Regions from separate parts of the Homo sapiens genome. Here all the other regions are linked to region 1. The links are contacts of gene promoters, found by promoter capture Hi-C in blood cells and fetal thymus (Javierre and others, 2016). All regions are on one chromosome and are shown on one strand. Each heading gives the region's core, a stretch centred on a gene start or on the middle of the fragment in contact. The rest is flanking DNA. Distances are from core to core; before and after follow the strand shown. Region 1 holds the start of GDPD5 (glycerophosphodiester phosphodiesterase domain containing 5). Region 2 overlaps ARRB1 (arrestin beta 1). Region 3 has its middle 15 kb from the start of ARRB1. Region 4 overlaps ARRB1 (arrestin beta 1). Region 5 overlaps ARRB1 (arrestin beta 1).

Region 1 (3,663 bases), core at 663-3,162:
TCAGCAGGCAGAGAGCAATAACAAAGGGGCTGGAACGCCAGGCTAGGGATGTAGGGCTTGGTCATGCTGGCAACCGGGAGCCAGAGAGGGCTCTGGACAGAGGGAAGGGCCACAAGGTTTCTTAGCGTCAAGTTCAACAAGTAAAGGCAAAACTGCCTTCTCCCAGCCCTCAGGCTCCAGAGACCAGTCCCAACTTCCTGGGCCCAACTTGCCTACTCCCAACCCCTGGGCCTGAAGAAGACAGGGCACCCTCAAGTCCGCAGCCTGAACTTCAGCCTCCAGCTCACCCTCTTCTTTGTTCTTCCAACCAGTCTCTCAGCCATAGTCTGATGCCATTTCTTTTGCAGGGAATGCCCATGCTTCACCCTCTGAAGCCTGCTGCCTGCCCAGTCCCTCACCTGGTTCCCTGCCAAGTAGCACCTTTATTCTTCTTTTATAGATGAGGAAACAGAGGCTCAGAGAGGGAGAGTAACCTGTTAAAGCCACACAGCTTTACCCTAGAATTTGATAATGATGGGTGGATAGAACTCTGTGCCAGCTGTGTGGTCTCGGGAACGTCACTTAGCCTCTCTGTGCTGAGTCCTCATCTGTGAAATGGGGTACCTATCACAACATAAGGTTGGTGTGAGGTTTACAAAGAGACTGTACTGTGCCACCAACATCCCTTAGCTCCCCAGGCCAGTTAGCGGCTTTCACATGGTCCCTACCCCACTCCCCCGCGGCACACATTCAACTTTCATTCATACATCAGTTCCCTCCAACACCTTCTCTGCGCCTGGTCCTGTGCACACACTGAAGACGGCTCCTTGGCCAAGCACAGGGCTCACACCTATAATCTCAGCACTTTGGGAGGTCGAGGCAGGAGGATCGCCGGAACCCAGGAGATCGAGACCAGCCTGGAAAACATAGGGAGACCCTGTCTCTACAAAAAATTTAAAAATTAGCCAGATGTGGTGGTGCACGCCTGTAGTCACAGCTACTCCGGAGGCACAGGTGGGAGGATCTCTTTAGCCTGGAAGTTCGAGGCTGCAGTGAGCCGTGATAGTGCCACTGCACTCCAGCCTGGGCCACAGAGCGGGACCCTGTCTCAAAATAAAATGAAATAGAAAATAAAGACGGCTCCTGCACCCAACGCGCGGGGTGGGAAGGGGCGGGAGCGGACTGCAGATGCATCACGATTCGAAGTGTGTGTCCTCACACAACTCTGCTCTTGAGTTCGTATTTTTAAAATTGACCACGACGCTCCTCCTCGGGGATGGGCGCAGGGAAGGGAGGCTTGTGGAAGACAAATTCGCTCATTTCCAAAAACTTATTTTTCACCGTTTCCTGAAATCTGAACACTTCCCAGCCCAACTCTCACCTCTGAGCGCCGAGCACTAGAAGCTAGGGAGAAGCAAGGTGTCGGTGGCATCCCACCACTCAGGAGGGCTCGCTCCAGCGTCCCTGGGACCCCTGACCCCGGATATCCTCCACCTTGCCTCGCCCCGGCTTCTTTTCCTACACTGGCCCCTGCTCCTTCCCCGTGACCCCCGCAATCCCCGCACAGCAGTCCCCATGCCCCCGTCCCAGGCAAGCCAGCCCTCTCGCCTCTCCCTCCTTCCGGGTCCCGAGGCCAACCCCCTCCCCGATTCGGCCCGTTCCGAACCCCCAGCCCCGCCATTGTCCTCTTGCAGCCGCACCTCTCCATTGTCCGCCCCGCCCTCTCCGAGGTAGAATCCGCTTTCCGCAGGGCGCCGCTCCGCTCCCACCCTCGGATTGGCTCCTGCGGCCCCACGCGCGAGGCCCGGGAAGGGGAGAGGGCGCGCACCCCGCCCCTGCCCGCAGCCGGCCGGGGGCGGGGTCTCTGCTGACTCCGCCCCGTCCGGGCGGGGCCGCGCAGGCTGGCGCTGGGGCGCTGGGCGGCGCTGTTTCGGCTGAGCTCGGGCTGCGGCTCCGGTGGGGGTGGGTGGCGGGGATGACAGCGGAGGTGGCAGCGGCGCGGCGCTGAGCGAGCGGCGAGGGAGCAGGGGAAGAGGAGGAAGTGGAGCCGCGGCCGGGAGCTCGGGAGTCGGCCGCCGCGCCGAGGTTCGCCCCGTTTTGCAGAGAGAGCCGAGTCGGGACCTGGAAAGACTTCCCCGCGGGGCTCCGGCCGCCGCGCCTCCCCGCCGGCGCCTGCCCTGCCCTGCCCGTCCCAGCCCCGCGGTTCGGGGCGTGCGGCCGGGACGCGCGGAGCCCCGGCCCTGACCCGCTGCGCCGGGACGGGACGCTCCTAACGCCGCCGTACCGGTCCGTGGTTGCAGGGTCGCTCCGCGCCTTTCCGTCAGTGAGGGTCGGAACCCCAGCTCCAGGGCTAGCGCAGTGTGGCCCCAGGCCCTCGCCTCCGGTGCACGGGACCCCGGACCCCCCCAGCCTCTGGCTTCACGAGACCCCAACCTTCAGTTGGAACAGCTTGGAACAGCGCGAGCGCCCGGGAAGCCCTGGCCGGGTCGTGCGCTCGGTGAGGGGTCCTAGGCGGGCAGGACAGTCGGACCGAACCGCCGGGCTGGTGCCGCGAGCCCAGGCTGTCACCTTCGTCCCGCCTCAGGTGAGGGGTTCAGCGCCTGCCCCGAAGATAACACAGGGGTCCCCTTCTGTCCCGGCGGCCTGCGAGAGCCAAGGCTGCAGGTGAGAGCCCCGGATGCGCGGCAGGAGCGGTCCCCGACCCCATCGCGGCAGCGCGGGGGCCAGCGGAGGGAGTGTCAGGGGAAACAAGCAGAGGCTGGAACTGGCTGGGAGGGGGCGCGGGAAGGGGAGGGGAAAGAAAGAAAACGGGTACTTATTGAGCGCCCATTGTGTGCGGGTTCGCGCCCTGCCCCGCCCCGCCCCGCCTAAGCCTCACTGCTACTCCTGAAATAGGTGTTGTGTATTATTATCGGCGCTTGCAGATGGAGAAACTGAGGCTTAACGGGGCTGAGTGACCTCCTTTCACTGCGGGGAGGAGACTGGGGAAGCGGGAGAGGATAGAGGGGGAAGAGGCAGAGCACTTGAGCGCTGATGCTAAAGCTGAGGAAGTGGCTTCTTCTTGCCTCCCGCTCCCTGGCCATGTCACCCGCGAGGAAAGGTGACTCAGAGTTGAGGGTAGAGGTGGGAAGCTTCCCAGTTCCAAAGCTTCTCTCCCTGTGGGCCCAGGATGTGAGAGCAGCAGCTCCTGGCCCTTGTGTGTCAGACTCCAGGGTCTCTAAGACACTCTGGAGGTCCTGAGACGTGCTTATCTGTTGGTGAATTCACTGCAGAGATCCCCAAGTAAGGGTCTGTCAGAGCTGGAGATGTAGCCCCTCTGGGGTGGCTGGAGATGTGGCTCACGTGACTCACCTCCCTCACATTACTAATGGGGACACTGAGGCCCACCCGAAGGGAGTGCCAGTTGTCCGATCCTAAAGCCAGTGAGTCCTTGAGCCACAAGTAGACTTGAGAAAACCTTCCTGAGCATCCTTCAAGGTATGCACACTCCTCCCCAGTTAGGATCTTCTGGATAGGTGGCTGGGGCTTTCCCTATCGCTGATGTGAGATCTGGGCGACCATGTATGAGGCTGTGGTGAGAATTAGTGTGGTTGGTTGCTGGGGCCCCGAGGAATGCCTGCAACCGCATTGCCTTTGGCCCAAATGGAAGGTCCAACCTCATTTTCTTCTGGGCAGGGGAACCTG
Region 2 (3,550 bases), core at 266-2,765, 190 kb after region 1:
TTGGGCACACTGAGGCCACGTGGAGTGGTGGAGAGGAGGCAGCAGGCTGGGGTTCTCCCCTCCCCTTTACCAGTAATTGCATGTCTGTAGGCAAGTTTTCCAGCCTCTGGAGATAATGTGTTCATCCTTTCTCGGTTACAGCTGTGCTAATTAAAGCACCCAGCACATTAGCAGGGCTCATCACTGGTTGATGTTATGATGGGTCTCTATTGCCCCAGGGTACTGGGAGAAACCTACAGACGTTTTAAAACTCAATAAGGAGATTTTTTTTTGCAACAGATTTTTTTGACATTCTAAAAATGACAAAAATGATTACACATCATAATCAAGTGATTAATATGCGTTGTCGTTTCTCCCTGCGCTGACTGTTCCACAGCAGCGATTCAGTACAGCAGTGATTCACTGTGCATACTTGAAACAATTCAGCCACCTCTGATGTTCACCATTTGCAGAGTAAACTTTGTAGTAGGGAGAACTTTCAAAGAACCATGACCTGGCCCCACACTGAGCCCTGACCCAGTGTACAGAAAGACCTGAGTTTCTGTACACTGAGGCTCTGGCCTCAACTTCCATTTGAGTGTAGACCTGGATGGGGGTGTGCTGAGCTCCCTGGAGAAGAGAAAACCATGCCTTCCTGTGGGCAGCCCCAGTTCAGGGGATCCAAACTGAATGGTGATAGAGACATGGCTCCCAAAGTACTGTTCTCCTCATTCTACCGCCACTGGCTCAGGTCAAGCCCCACTCCTGGCCTGGATCATTACAATTGTCTTCTAGTTGCTGTCTTTCTGCTCAGTCCCAACCCTCCAAGCCATCCTGTTATTCTGAAATTCACATCTGGTCATTCTTCCCAGCCTAAGGCCTGATCCACTGCTCCCCATGTCCTATGGGAAAGTCCCCATTCTCTAGGTGGCACTGGAGGCCCTTCAGGATCTGTCTCTAATGTCCCTTCCACACTCCTTTCCCAGCTGTCCCCACCACACTGCTAACAACCTGGCTGCATTGACTTTTTTGGATCTTCCTCAACAGTCTTTGTACTTTTCACGCCTCTGTGCCTTTGCTCAAGCCGATCTCTTTAGCTGGAATGCCCTTCTTCCTCTGGTGAAATATTCCTTATATTTTCAGGTTGAACTTAAAAACATTTTAGCCTGGGTGCGGTGGCTCACACCCTTAATCCCAGCACTTTGGGAGGCCGAGGCAGGCGGATCACTTGAGCACCATTGCACTCCAGCCTGGGCAACAGGAGTGAATCTCCGTCTCAAAAAAAAAAAAAAAAAAAAAAAAAAAAAAAGACATTTCAATGAAATTCATTGAACAACTGCACAGGGCACCTGCTGTAGACATGAAGCCCTCCCTTGACTGCTCCCTGCCCAGGTAGAGTGAATGGCCTCTTCCAGGCTCCCTTAGCACTGTGCAGGCTTCCCGGATGGCACTTTACATTGTAGTTGACTGCTAACAAGTCAGTTCCCTCTCTGCTCGAGGGCAAATGTGTATCTCTTGTCTCTTGGACTCCCAGCTCCTGACTGGGGCCTGGCACAGTGTGGGGCCAGACTTGGGTTAGGGAGTGAGTCAGGGAAGATTCCCTGGAGGAAGTGAGCCCCGAGCTGCTGACTTAAAGAAAAAGCACCCTTTCCCTCTTCTTACTTCCTTCCTGGTCCTCGTGCTGAAGGAAAACAGTCAAAACTTTTTTTTTCCTTTTCTGTTTTTCCTTTGAGATAGGATCTTGCTGTGTCATCCAGACTGGAGTGCAGTGGCACGATCATAGCTCACTGCAGCCTCGAAGATTTTTTGTGGAGATGGGGTCTCACTGTGTTGCTCAGGCTGGTCTCAAACTCCTGGGCTCAAGAGATCCTTCTGCCTCAGCCTCCCATAGTGTTGGGATTATAGGTGTGAGCCACTGTGCCTGGTCTGAAACTGACTTTGAAAAGGGAAATGTATGGCTTTTGAATTGAGGGATGGAATCTCCTAGCCTGGAGATAATTAAATAAGGCTTAGATCTCCCTCTCTCCCTTCACGCATTTCCTGAATACCTAGAACATGCCAGACACTGGAGCTACAAAATGAATTAAATAAAACATGTCTATCTTTTTCTATCTCCATAATGTTCATGCTGGAAACTGCCCTTTTTCTGTTTCATTGGATCAAGTTCAAATCTTAGCAGGTCACTTGTAACTCTGACTCTGGGCACATTGTGCCACCTTTCTGAGCCCTAGTTTTCTTATGCATACCACGGAGGTGATAATATTCCCCTCATAGGGTGGTGATGGATCATGTGTGTGAGGGGCTGAACAGGTGCCTTTGACAGTGGTTTCTCATTGAGTGGCAGCCACTCTCCGACTGGAAGTTTCTTGAGGGCAGTGACTATGTTTGGTAGATAAATGTGTCCTTGGCACCCAGCCCAGGGACCAGGCATGCAGTACATGAGGGTCGTCAGCCATCCCAATTTTCCTGGGACAGTCTCAGTCTCGCATCTCAGGAAACCCCTCAGCTCACTCCTGGGCAAATCAGGACTGTGGGTCACCCTACAGTATCTTCTCATAAAGATTCGTAGAGTAGGTATATCCACGAATTAAGCAAGCATTAGTGAAGGACAGGAGTAGGACTTGAACAGGCCAGGGCAAGCACTGGGTGGCTGCCTTGGGCGCTGAGAGGAGTCAGCAGAAGGGTCTGGAAGGCCTAGCATGTGGACAGTGGGAGGTAGGGGTGGGGCCATCTGCAGCTTGGCAGGGTGTGGGGAGGACATCAGGCCCTGAGTCTGTAAGGTGACTGCTTTCAAACAGGTTTCAGGCTCCCAAGGGCCATGTGCTCTTCCTCAGACACATCCAGAGAGGGCACGGTTGATTCTCACTTTTTTGATTTCTATTAAATATATTGAGCCCTCAGCTACTCTTCCGCCTTGGTAGCTGGAGGCCTCTTCTTCCTCAACCTACTGAGTCTCAGCGTGCCTGCCCACTGCCTTCTGAGCTGTCCATGCCAGACTGAGATGAGACAGGGCAGAGGCACGGGCTGCGAGATGGGAGAGCAGGGCTGCAGGCTCATTCTCAGGCCCAGCCCCAGACACTGAGTGAGCCTTGGTTTCTCACAGGGTATCTGTGAGTTGTCACGTGTGGAAAGCCCCTTGGCATCTTTAGTATGCAATAGGTGCACAGCAAGTCTCATGTTTTGTCCCCGTCTATAAAAGGGGGACAATAAAGCTTGCCCTGCTCACCTCCAGGACTGTCGTGTGGGCCAAACGGGATGTGGATGTGGGATGTGGGAACATTTGGTAAACTGTATCATACCCTACAAATGTTTGAGGATGGGGTTCTTAATAGGGCAGCCCTTGCCAGCCCAGGATTCCAGGCCCAGGATTCCAGCCCAGGCATGGAAGGCTCCTCTTGGGGTTGTGCCCCAGGATCACAAAGAAATCTGGCAGTGCTGCCCTTGTGAGCAGCAGACCTCCGCAGGCAGGTCCGAGACTCAGCTGAGCTCTGCTTCTTTTTTTTTTGAGACAGGGACAGGGCCTGGCTCTGTTGCCCAGCCTGGAGTGCAGTAGTGTGATCATAGCTCACTA
Region 3 (3,602 bases), core at 365-2,864, 160 kb after region 1:
AGCCCAGGAGTTCAAGACCAGCCTGGACAACATAGTGAGACCCTGTCTCTATAAAAGGTAAAAAATTAGCCAGGTATGGTGGCATGCACCTGTAGTCCCAACTACTTGGGAGGTTGAGGTGGAAGGATCATATGAGCCTAGGTGTCAAGGCTGCCATGATTGTGCCACTGCCTTCCAGCCTGGGCAACAGAGTGAGACCTTGTCTTAAAAAAAAAAAAAAAAAAAAAAAGGTAAAATAAAGAATTATTTTTTGTCTCTATATTTTTGGAGAACTATATGAATTTTTTTTTTTTTTGAGTCAGAGCCTCGTTCTGCTGCCCCAGGCTGGAGTGCAGTGGTGTGATCTTGGCTCACTACAACCTGCCCCCTCCACGCCCCCCTCAGGTTCAACCAATTCTCTCCTGCCTCAGCCTTCTGAGTAGCTGGGATTACAGGCATGCGCCACCACACCCAGCTAGTTTTTGTATTTTTAGTGGAGAGATGGGGTTCTCCATGTTGGCCCAGGTCTCAAACTCCTGACCTCAGGTGATCCGTCTGTCTCAGCCTTCCAAAGTGCTGGGATTACAGGCATGAGCTACTGTACCCAGCCACTTTTTCACATAAATTTTTTATTTTGGAGTAATTTTAGATTTGTAGGATGCTGGGTGCAGTGGCTCATGCTTGTAATCCCAGCACTTTGGGAGGCCAAAGTGGGTGGATCACTTGAGGTTAGGAGTTCAAGACTAGCCAGGTCAATATGGTGAAACCCCATCTCTACTAAAAATACAAAAATTAGCTGGGAGTGGTGTCAGGCGCCTGTTGTCCCAGCTACTCGGGAGGCAGAGGCTGCAGTGAGCCGAGATTGCGCCACTGCCCTCCAGCCTGGGTGACAGAGCAAGACTCCATCTCAAAAAAAAAAAAAGGGTTTTAGAAAAGTTGCAAAGATAATATACAAAGTTCCCATATACCCTTCACCCACTTTCTTCTAATGTGAGCATCTTACATTGATGGGAGCCGAAAGCCTGAGCGTTGTGACCAACTCAGCATTCCACTGGAGGCTATATGATCAAACAGCAAACTGTTTATCATGAATACAGAATGTGGGCAAACTCGCACCTGCACCTGCTACCAGAAGGTATGCTGAGGGCAGTCACTCCCTGGTGCCGTGCTCCTTGAGGTTATCTATGGGGACATCTGGAGCCTAGTCTTCAAAGAATGTAGTCATGCAGGCCATGTACTAAGTCAAGCAGCTGACCGACAACCACCCCCTTCTCCTTATCTCCTTTACTTAGTAAATACAAAGGGCTCTAGAAGCTCAGGGCCCTTGTTCACTAGAAGCAAGGAGCCCCCTAACCCCTTCTTCCAAATATACTCTTTTGCCTTTGATTTTTTTTTTTTTTTTTTTTTTTTTTGAGAGGGAGTCTCGCTCTGTTGCCCAGGCTGGAGTGCGGTGGAGCGATCTTGGCTCACTGCAAGCTCCGCCTCATGGGTTTACGCCATTCTCCTGCCTCAGCCTGTCAAGTAGCTGGGACTACAGGTGCCCACCACCACGCCTGGCTAATTTTTTGTAGTTTTAGTAGAGATAGGGTTTCACCGTGTTAGCCAGGATGGTCTCGATCTCCTGACCTCGTGATCTGCCTGCCTCGACCTCCCAAAGTGCTGGGATTACAGGCGTGAACCACCACGCCTGGCCTTGTCTTTGTTTTTATTCCCATGTTTGCCCTCCTTTGTTCAGTCCACCAGGGTCCGTGGCATTACATAACTGTGGTCCATCAAAACTAAGAAGTTAACATTCATATATTACTATTAATGAAACTCCAGATTTTCACTAGTTTTCCTACTAATGTCCTTTTCTGTTCCAGGACCCACTCCAGTATTTCCCACCGTATTTAGTCCTCATGTCTCCTTGGTCTCCTCTGTGACAATTTCTCAGTCTTTCCTTGTTTTTAAAATCATTTTCACAGTTTTAAGAGGGCTGGTCAGGTATTCCGCAGAATGTTCCTCAATTTGGAATTTTTCTTATGATTAGGCTGGAGTTAGGTATTTTGGGGGAGAATATCACAACAGTGGAGTGTCTGGCTCATCACATGATATCAGCTGGTGACGTAACCCTGATCACTTCAAGTGTTTGCCAGATTTCTCCACTTTAAAGTTACTATTTTTTTCCCTATCCATACTCTGTTCTTTGGAAGTGAGTCACTAAGTCCAGCACACATTCAAGGCAAGAGGGCTAATTCAACTCCATCTGGAGGGGAGAGTATATCTATATATTATTTGGTATTCCCCTGTAAGGAAGATCTGTCCTTTCCTGCCATGTATTTATTTATTCAACCATTTATTTAGACCACTATGGACTCATGTTTATTTATTTTATACTTTGGGTTATAATCCAATATGACCTTATTTATTTTGTTGCTCATACTGTTCCGGTTTTGGCTATTGAGAGCTCTTTCAGGTTCCTTTTTTTTTTTTTTTTTTTTCAGTGCTTCCTTATTTTCTGGCACTAGCTTCTAGAATTTTTTTTTTTTTTTTTTTTTTTTTGAGACGGAGTCTCACTCTGTTGCCCAGGCTGGAGTGCAGTGGTGCGATCTTGGCTCACTGCAAGCTCTGCCTCCTGGGTTCGTGCCATTCTCCTGCCTCAGCCTCCCAAGTAGCTGGGACTACAGGCGCCCACCACCATGCCCTGCTAATTTTTTGTATTTTTTAGTAAAGACGGGGTTTCACCATGTAGCCAGGATGGTCTTGATCTCCTGACCTCGTGATCCACCTGCCTCGGCCTCCCAAAGTGCTGGGATTACAGGCGTGACCCACCGTGCCCTGCCACTTCTAGACTTTTTAATTATATTTTTTATCTGGGCAATCATGTTTTTTATTTCCCAGGACTCTTTCATGTTGTCTAATTGATCCCTTTATTAGCAGTTCTTTCTTGTTTTATGAATCTAATATAGTCTCAAATTAGAATTTGTTTCTAATTGTAATATTGAAAATACTATTTATTGGATTTAAATGAGCAGAATTACTCTCTAGATAAAGCATGGAAGACTTCATTATAGTTACAGAATAAATTTAAATATTATAACTCTTAGCAATGTAACAGTATAACTATCAGTGTCAGAAGGCTGGAGGAGAAGAGGAGAGATCAAACACTGCACAGATGCTAACTTTTTCATTTTACATAGTATAAATCAAGAGATGCTATCTTGGCCAGGCACGCTGGCTCAAGCCTTAATCCCAGCACTTTGGGAGGTCAAGGCAGGAGGATCAGTTGAGCCCAGGAGTTCGAGACCAGCCTGGGCAATATGTTGAGCCCCCATCTCTATTATAAAAAACAAAAAAAAGAAAAAAAATGACAGATACTATCTAAAGTGCATAGGAATGGAAATAAAGGTTTTAAGCAATTATCAATCAATGGAAGACTAAACTAACACTACAACACAACGTAGAAAGGATTGGGAGATGAGCATTAAAGTAAATGAGCAAATGTCCTTTTTCATGAGAAGAGTCAATAAATGTTAATTCAAGTGGATAAATCAAGAAATTGAGGTATATGCATATCAATCAGATTTGTGGTACAAACTACCATAGCTAAAAGCAGAAAAGGTAAAAATAAAGTTTTTTTAAGA
Region 4 (3,364 bases), core at 564-3,063, 200 kb after region 1:
GCAAAACATACAGCACTTCCTGTGGTCCAGGTATTGTTCCAAGTTCTTTACATGCGTAAAGTTGCTCATTTAATCCTCACAACAACCCAGGAAGTAGACACTGTTGTAATCTCCATTTTACAGAAGGGAAAACTGAGACCCTGAGAGGTTTCCCATCTAATAAACGGCAGATCTAGGATTTGAACCCAGAGCAGTCTAGTTGAATCTGCCTCCTAACTGGTCTCTCTGCTTCCACTCCAGTCTCTCTGCCCTTCCATTCGCCTCCCAGCAGCCAAAGTGAACGTACTAAAGCATGACTGCATTGTGTCAATTATCTGCTGAAACCCCACCAACATCTTATCACGGTGACAGAGTAATATCCACACTTCTGATCTGGCCTTCTGGTGACCAGGCCCTGCCCCCATGTCCCTGCTGGCCTTGTACCTTCAGTGATTCCCCTGTCTTCCCCTAGAACCCTCCCATAGTAGGTTTGGTGTTTTTTGTTGTTGTTGTTTTGTTTTTTGAGATGGAGTCTTGCTCTGTTGCCCAGGCTGGAGTGCAGTGGCATGATCTTGGCTCATTGCAACCTCTGCCTCCTGGGTACAAGCGATTCTCCTGCCTCAGAATCCCAAGTAGCTGGGATTACAGGCATGTGCCACCATGCCTGGCTAGTTTTTGTATTTTTAGTAAAGACAGGGTTTTGCCATGTTGGCCAGACTGGTCTCGAACTCCTGACCTCAGGTGATCCATCTGCCTCAACCTCCCAAAGTGCTGGGATAACAGGCGTCTGGCTGGTAGGTTTGGTTTTGTTTTGCCCCAGTTCAGCACCCCAGCCCTTGTCCCTTTTGGAGTTAGTACTGCTGCTTCTTCAACTCTTAGCCCGGATGTCACTTTCTTGGGGAAGACTTCCCTGACTCCTTAGGCTGGTCTGTGCCCATCCTGGGCTCTTGGAGCCCTCCACTTTATAGCATTTATTGTGAGAGTCACCATATACTTGTTTGTATGATGCCTGTCTTGCAGGGCTGCTGTGTTACCTGCTTGTAGGAACGCTCTGTGTTCTGTTTGCACTGTGATCTGTGTCATGGTAACCAAAGGAGTTGTGTAGTGCAGAGCCCTGCAGTTTCCCTGGCCAGACGGGAAGCTTTATGTAGACAGGGCCCTTTGCCCAAATCTGCCCTATTCACCATATGTCTGATGGCCAACAGCATCTGACACACAATAGGTGCTCAATAAATTCTGTTGAATATTCATAAGAAGATCTAATGTGTATTACTAGGTGCCAGACACTACACTCACTTAATCCTCAGAACAACCTGATGGGGTGGGCACTGCTATCATCCCATTTTACAGATGAAGAAACAAGTTGAGTGAGGGGAGGTCACTTGACTGATGCCCTCTAGCCGGTTCCAACCAAGGCAGACCAGTTCACTAGGATAAAAAAGTGAATGAAAGAAGGACCCCTAAATTCCAGCAGCTTCAAGTAACTCAGATGAGGGCTGTAAGGAAAACACAGACTAAAGTCATCCCATAAAGCCTCTCTCAAATGGTGGTGAGCATGTGTGTAAGGAAGGTGGTTTCCGCCAGCAGGGAGAGAAGAAGGAGAGAAAAGGCCCTGGACAGGAGATGGGTTACTTTGGTGGTCACTCTCCCCTTGGGCTCCAAGCCTGGCTGCCTACTTTCCTGACCACAGCTTCTGCCTCCCAGGCTCACTCTGCCATAATAGAGTCCTGAGGAAGAGGTGGGGGGATGGTGGTGGGGGGGGGTGAGCAGGAATGGGGTGGGATTTTCTTCCACGTGGGGTGGGATTTTCTTCCACGTGCTGAGGTCATACCAGAGGCCTTTGTTCTTACCTACCTGGAGGCCTAAACTTTACCTTGTGCCTCTCCTGAAAGGAAGGAGGGCAGGAAAGCAGGTGTGCAGGTGAGGGAAAACAGAGAACAAGAGAAGTCAAAGGATTTGTCCAAGACACATAGGTCCCTGGGAGCCTCTTAGCCCCCACTAGTGAGTGTATGTGTGTGTCTGTGCACGTGTGTTGTGTTGAGGGCAGAGGGGCAAAGATGATGTCTCCCTATTGCTCAGCTCCCATGGCCCCTCCTGTCTCCTCATCCCAGCCTCCTGTCCCACCAGAGGAAAAGGCCCCCATGAAGGCTTTGCGAATGGAAATGAAGTGTGTCCCAGCGCCCAGTGGTCTGGGAGTCCAGGGCCATCTCTGTGCTGGCACTTCCTCTTCTGGGTTCCTTGGGTTTCCTAGCAGATTCCAGGCTTTCCAGAGACTAGGATGAATTTTACTCTACAATGTTTTTGAGTTTGTGCGGTGCTGGAGCCAGCCCAGCTGAGGTCAGGTCTGAGGGCTTTGGGAAGAGTTGGGTACTTGAGTGGGGTCTCGAAGGAGGAATCGGAGTTACCATGTGGAGCCCATGGCCTCTTCCTCCTGGAGCCTTCAGCCCTTGCGGGAACAGAGCTGAGCAGGCCCTGATGACTGATCCCTCCCCATCTCTGGTGGGGCTATCCAGCCCCCCAAGCTTTCAGAGGCTCCAGCCTCAGGGCCACCATCCAGCCACCCGCCCTTGGAGGCCTCAGCTTCTTTCCCGCCTCCTTCTCCACAGGTCTCAGTCTGCTGGGGATTCTGTTTTGGTTGGAAGGAGGAGGCGGAGGAGTTTGCATGTCTGGCTCTTTCCTCCTTTCTCATTCCTCCTCCTTTCCTCCTGCTTGCTGATCAAGATGTTTCCTCCGCCAGCCTGGCTCCACTCCAGCCCCCTCCCCACCTTGGGCAGGCAGCAGCCATCCTCTCCGGCCTGGGGCTTCTGTGGGCTGTGGCTTCCCAGGGTGCACCCTTAATGCCCTCTTCACCAGTGGAGGGTCTGTAGGCAAATCCTTCAGGATGGGGGCACCTCACCTCTTCTCTTCCTCCTCTGTTGAAGCCCAAATCTCCTGGGAGAAGAGGCTGCAGGACCACTCCAGGGCTGCCTCCTGCTCTGGGGGGGACTTTGGTCTCATCCCTGTCCCCGATGGGGCTTCGGTTTCCTGGGGAGTTCACAGCCAACTGGGCCTCTTGACACAGAGGTACATAGCATGCTTCGTATTTGTTTGGTAGGAGTTTTGTGCTGCTTTGCCAAGCATCTTTACTCCAGGCCTGGAAGCACTGGGTGGGGGCTACCCTCCACCCCACCACCTAGGCAAGTGGCCTGGAATGTAGAATTTGAGTACTTCTAATTTTTCAAACCCCAAGGGGTCCCCCTGGGGACCCTTACGGTCCCTTTCCCTGTCTGCTCCTCCTGGCTTACAGAGCTTCACAGGGATGAAACCAGCGTACATCCTGGCCTGACAGAGCCCAACCTCGGCCTTGTAGCCTTAGCACCTTGCACTGTGCCTGGGGCAGGGCAGA
Region 5 (3,386 bases), core at 667-3,166, 220 kb after region 1:
TCCAGCCTGGGTGACAGAGCGAGACTCCATCTCCAAATAATAATAATAATAATGATAATAATAATCTGGGGGAAAAACATCATAAATTGTGTTTTCTACCCAAGACTGTAGGGAGACAGACAGTTTAAACATTTCCCTGTCCCAGCAGGAGTAACATGACCATCTCCTCCCACCCGCAAGGCTTTCTCACCTGAGGGACACTTGGGGGAGAACTCTCCCTGAGCAGGGGGTGGGGGCAGGACACTGGCCAGGATAATGATGATGACAATTTCATAGTATCATAGCACAATGTCAGCTTCCCTGTGTTGAGTCACTACTGGGGATCAAGTTTTTACACCTATCCCCAGCCTATGGGGTGGATATTATCCCCATTCTCTAGGCGAAGGAAGCTGAGCCTTCCAGAGGATAGGAAATGGGCCTGAGGTCACACTGGGCTCAAGCAGAGACTCAGGCAGGGACTGTCTGCTTCAGCCTCTGGGCCCTTTTGGCTGCCAGCAACCTTCTCTTCCTGCATCTCAGCCCCAGGAAGGCTGGGCAGCGCTCAGGCGCAGTCTGTGGGCTCTTTGGTATCCAGCTGCCAGCCCGCCTGGGGAAATTTTGATTAGCCCTTGATTTTCAGATCTCCAGCTTCATGGGTTAACAGAAAATAAGCCAAGCTCTTTTAAGAAACTCTCCCCTCTGTCCATGGCCCCCTCTTTCCTCACTCTGCACCACCTGAGAATTTTCAAAAATATGCTTCATGGCCAAAGAAGTGAACCCGTGAATGCGGCAGGAGGCTTGGGGAATTGCTGTCGGCCTAGAAGTCTGTGGGAAGTCTGCAGCCCAGGAGTCTGACTTGGCCAGAACCCCTCACTCCCCAGCCACCACCCCTGACCCCTCTGGCCTGCCAGGCACTGCCCTGTGCCCTGGGAGCTATGGCAGATTTGAGCAGGGATGTGACAGGAGACGGGAACCACAGAAGCCGGCGGTCCCCATCCCAGTCTGACTCTGGGCACACTAGCGAGTCTCCCTGAGCCCAAGCTTCCTGGCCCTGGTGTGAGACTCTTCTCTCACTCGGGCTTTGATTTCTCCCTCTGGGAAATGAAGCAGGTGGGACTGTGCTCCCTCAGGCTCCGGAAATCTCTGAAATGGGGTGACATTTCTTGCCTTCCTGCCTCCTTCCCCCTCCTGGGCTGTCCTGAGAAGCAGGTGCACTGATGGTGGGTAAACAGAAGGGCCACACTCTGACACAGGGAGGGCTGGGAAATTCTGGCAGAGCAGACGAGCCGGTACACAAATAACTCTGCTACCAGGGAGAATGCGATAAGGGCCTAGGAACCTCTCTGCAGCCGCTGCCACCTGCTCCCCGCACCTCCCTGCTCCCTGATGGCTGCTCTCACACTGAGGAAAGTGGGTCAGAATGTAGGGTGGCTGCGTCTGAGTGAATGCCCCCTTGCGTCTCCCCACCCTACCCAGCTGAGCCATGGCTGCTATTGGACAGGGATGGGGGAACGTATGGGATTGAGGGCATCTCTGGGTCCAAAATATGGCCCTGGCCAGTCATTCTCCCTCCCCTCAAATGTGCATGGCTCCCTATTGCCTTCTGGATAAGGTCCAAGTTCCTTAGCCCGGCACTCAAGGCCCTTCACAGCCCTACCCTCCTAGCCGAAGGCCCTCACATAGAGGTGCTCCGTGATTCTCTGTGGAGCAAACGGACCATTCTCCAGCCCAGCCTCTTCCCCTGGGGCTCCTCCCAGGCACTTGGGGCACACTCCAGCCACACCAGAGGCTCGCTGTCTCCTGAGCACCTGGTGGATTCAGTTGCCCTCTCCAGGCCTCTGCCTGCAGTGTGGTCACCTTCTGCACCTTGTGTGTCCTTCAAGATCTTCCTCATTGCTACCTCCTCCCTTGAAGGCTTTTTTTTTTTTTTTGAGATGGAGTCTCGCTCTGTTGCCAGGCTGGAGTGCAGTGGCATGATATTGGCTCACTGCCACTTCCTCCTCCTGGGTTCAAGCGATTCTCCTGTCTCAGCCTCCAGAGTAGCTGGGACTACAGGCGCCCACGACCATGCCTAGCTAATTTTTGTATTTTTTTTTTTTTTTTTTTGAGACGGAGTCTCGCTCTGTCGCCCAGGCTGGAGTGCAGTGGCGCGATCTCGGCTCACTGCAAGCTCCGCCTCCCGGGTTCACGCCATTCTCCTGCCTCAGCCTCCCGCGCAGCTGGGACTACAGGCGCCCGCCACCACGCCCGGCTAATTTTTTTGTGTTTTTTAGTAGAGACGGGGTTTCACTGTGTTAGCCAGGATGGTCTCGATCTCCTGACCTCGTGATCCGCCCGCCTCGGCCTCCCAAAGTGCTGGGATTACAGGCGTGAGCCACCGCGCCCGGCCCTAATTTTTGTATTTTTAGTCGAGATGGGGTTTCACCATATTGGCCAGGATGGTCTCAATCTCTTGACCACATGATCCGCCCACCTCGGCCTCCCAAAGTGCTGGGATTAAAGGTGTGAACCACAGCGGCCAGCCCTGAAGGCTTTTTTGACTCCCCAGACAGAACCACATAATCCCACCTCTCAGGCAGTATTGTGAGTGATTAAAAGTGTGGTCTCTGGAGCTGGAGTATCTGGGCTCTGATATCTAGCTCTGTTGCTTACTTGCTGTGTGACCCTAGGCAAATTACTTAACCTCCCTGTGCCTCAGTTTTCTCATCTGTGAAATGGGATGATAGTAACACTTATTATAGAGTTGTTGGAGAAATAAGTGAGTTAATATTTGTAACTCACTTACAGCAGTAACTGGACCTGGTTTCTCTCCTGGATAACCTGGATAAGCTTTCTTTTCTTTCTTTCTTTCTTTTTTTTTTTTTTTTTTTTGAGACAGAGTCTCACTGTGTTGCCCAGGCTGGAGTGCAGTGGTGCAATCTCAGCTCACTGCAACCTCGCCTCCTGGGTTCAGTGTTTCTCCTGCCTCAGCCTCCTGAGTAGTTGGGATTACAGGCACGTGCCACCACACCCGGCTAATTTTTGTATTTTTAGTAGAGACAGGGTTTCACCATGTTGGCCAGGCTGGTCTCAAACTCCTGACCTCGTGATCTGCCCCCCTCGGCCTCCTAAAGTGCTGGGATTACAGGCGTCAGCCACTGCGCCTGTCCTACCACCATCTTTTTAAACTTCATCCATCCTCATACTTGAATAATTCTCTTAGGGCATTCATTTAACCATAGTCATCCTATATTTATTTATTGAGCACCTACTATATCCTAGGTACCATGCTATGCCCCAGAAATACAGTGAATATAACACAAATAATATCTCTACTTTCATTGTTGCTATAAAAGTGAAGCAGAGGGTGTTATCAGACCATTACAAAGTATGGTAAGTGCTATGAATGGGGACACACTGGATGTGGA

Evidence for each region. The method cuts DNA at HindIII sites, captures the fragments that hold promoters and counts their contacts. A CHiCAGO score of 5 or more calls a contact.
Region 2: a contact is called between a fragment that was not itself captured here and the fragment with the promoter of GDPD5 in region 1, in 3 of 17 cell types (activated CD4 T cells, erythroblasts and non-activated CD4 T cells). The highest score is 5.8, in activated CD4 T cells.
Region 3: a fragment that was not itself captured here is called in contact with the fragment with the promoter of GDPD5 in region 1 in 1 of 17 cell types (naive CD4 T cells); the score reaches 5.3 in naive CD4 T cells.
Region 4: a contact is called between a fragment that was not itself captured here and the fragment with the promoter of GDPD5 in region 1, in 3 of 17 cell types (non-activated CD4 T cells, naive CD4 T cells and endothelial precursors). The highest score is 5.9, in non-activated CD4 T cells.
Region 5: a fragment that was not itself captured here is called in contact with the fragment with the promoter of GDPD5 in region 1 in 1 of 17 cell types (naive CD4 T cells); the score reaches 5.7 in naive CD4 T cells.

Annotation. Positions count from the first base shown.
Region 1 is chr11:75,524,190-75,527,852 of GRCh38, reverse strand. GDPD5 (glycerophosphodiester phosphodiesterase domain containing 5) reads left to right here and starts at 1,912. Exons shown (of 17, transcript NM_030792.8): 1 at 1,912-2,643. RefSeq lists silencers at 1,585-1,644, 1,695-2,214 and an enhancer at 2,061-2,561. The HindIII fragment of the contact is 5,380 bases long and covers 1-3,112 here.
Region 2 is chr11:75,335,525-75,339,074 of GRCh38, reverse strand. The region is part of intron 1 of ARRB1 (arrestin beta 1); the gene reads left to right. Among named protein-coding and RNA genes, the nearest start is that of MIR326, 2.1 kb to the right of the region's middle. RefSeq lists an enhancer at 3,317-3,550. The HindIII fragment of the contact is 3,357 bases long and covers 1-3,193 here.
Region 3 is chr11:75,364,597-75,368,198 of GRCh38, reverse strand. No RefSeq gene overlaps it. Among named protein-coding and RNA genes, the nearest start is that of ARRB1, 15 kb to the right of the region's middle. The HindIII fragment of the contact is 5,328 bases long and covers 1-3,602 here.
Region 4 is chr11:75,319,644-75,323,007 of GRCh38, reverse strand. The region is part of intron 1 of ARRB1 (arrestin beta 1); the gene reads left to right. Among named protein-coding and RNA genes, the nearest start is that of MIR326, 14 kb to the left of the region's middle. RefSeq lists an enhancer at 1-158. The HindIII fragment of the contact is 1,381 bases long and covers 1,123-2,503 here.
Region 5 is chr11:75,299,667-75,303,052 of GRCh38, reverse strand. The region is part of intron 1 of ARRB1 (arrestin beta 1); the gene reads left to right. Among named protein-coding and RNA genes, the nearest start is that of MIR326, 34 kb to the left of the region's middle. The HindIII fragment of the contact is 1,788 bases long and covers 1,023-2,810 here.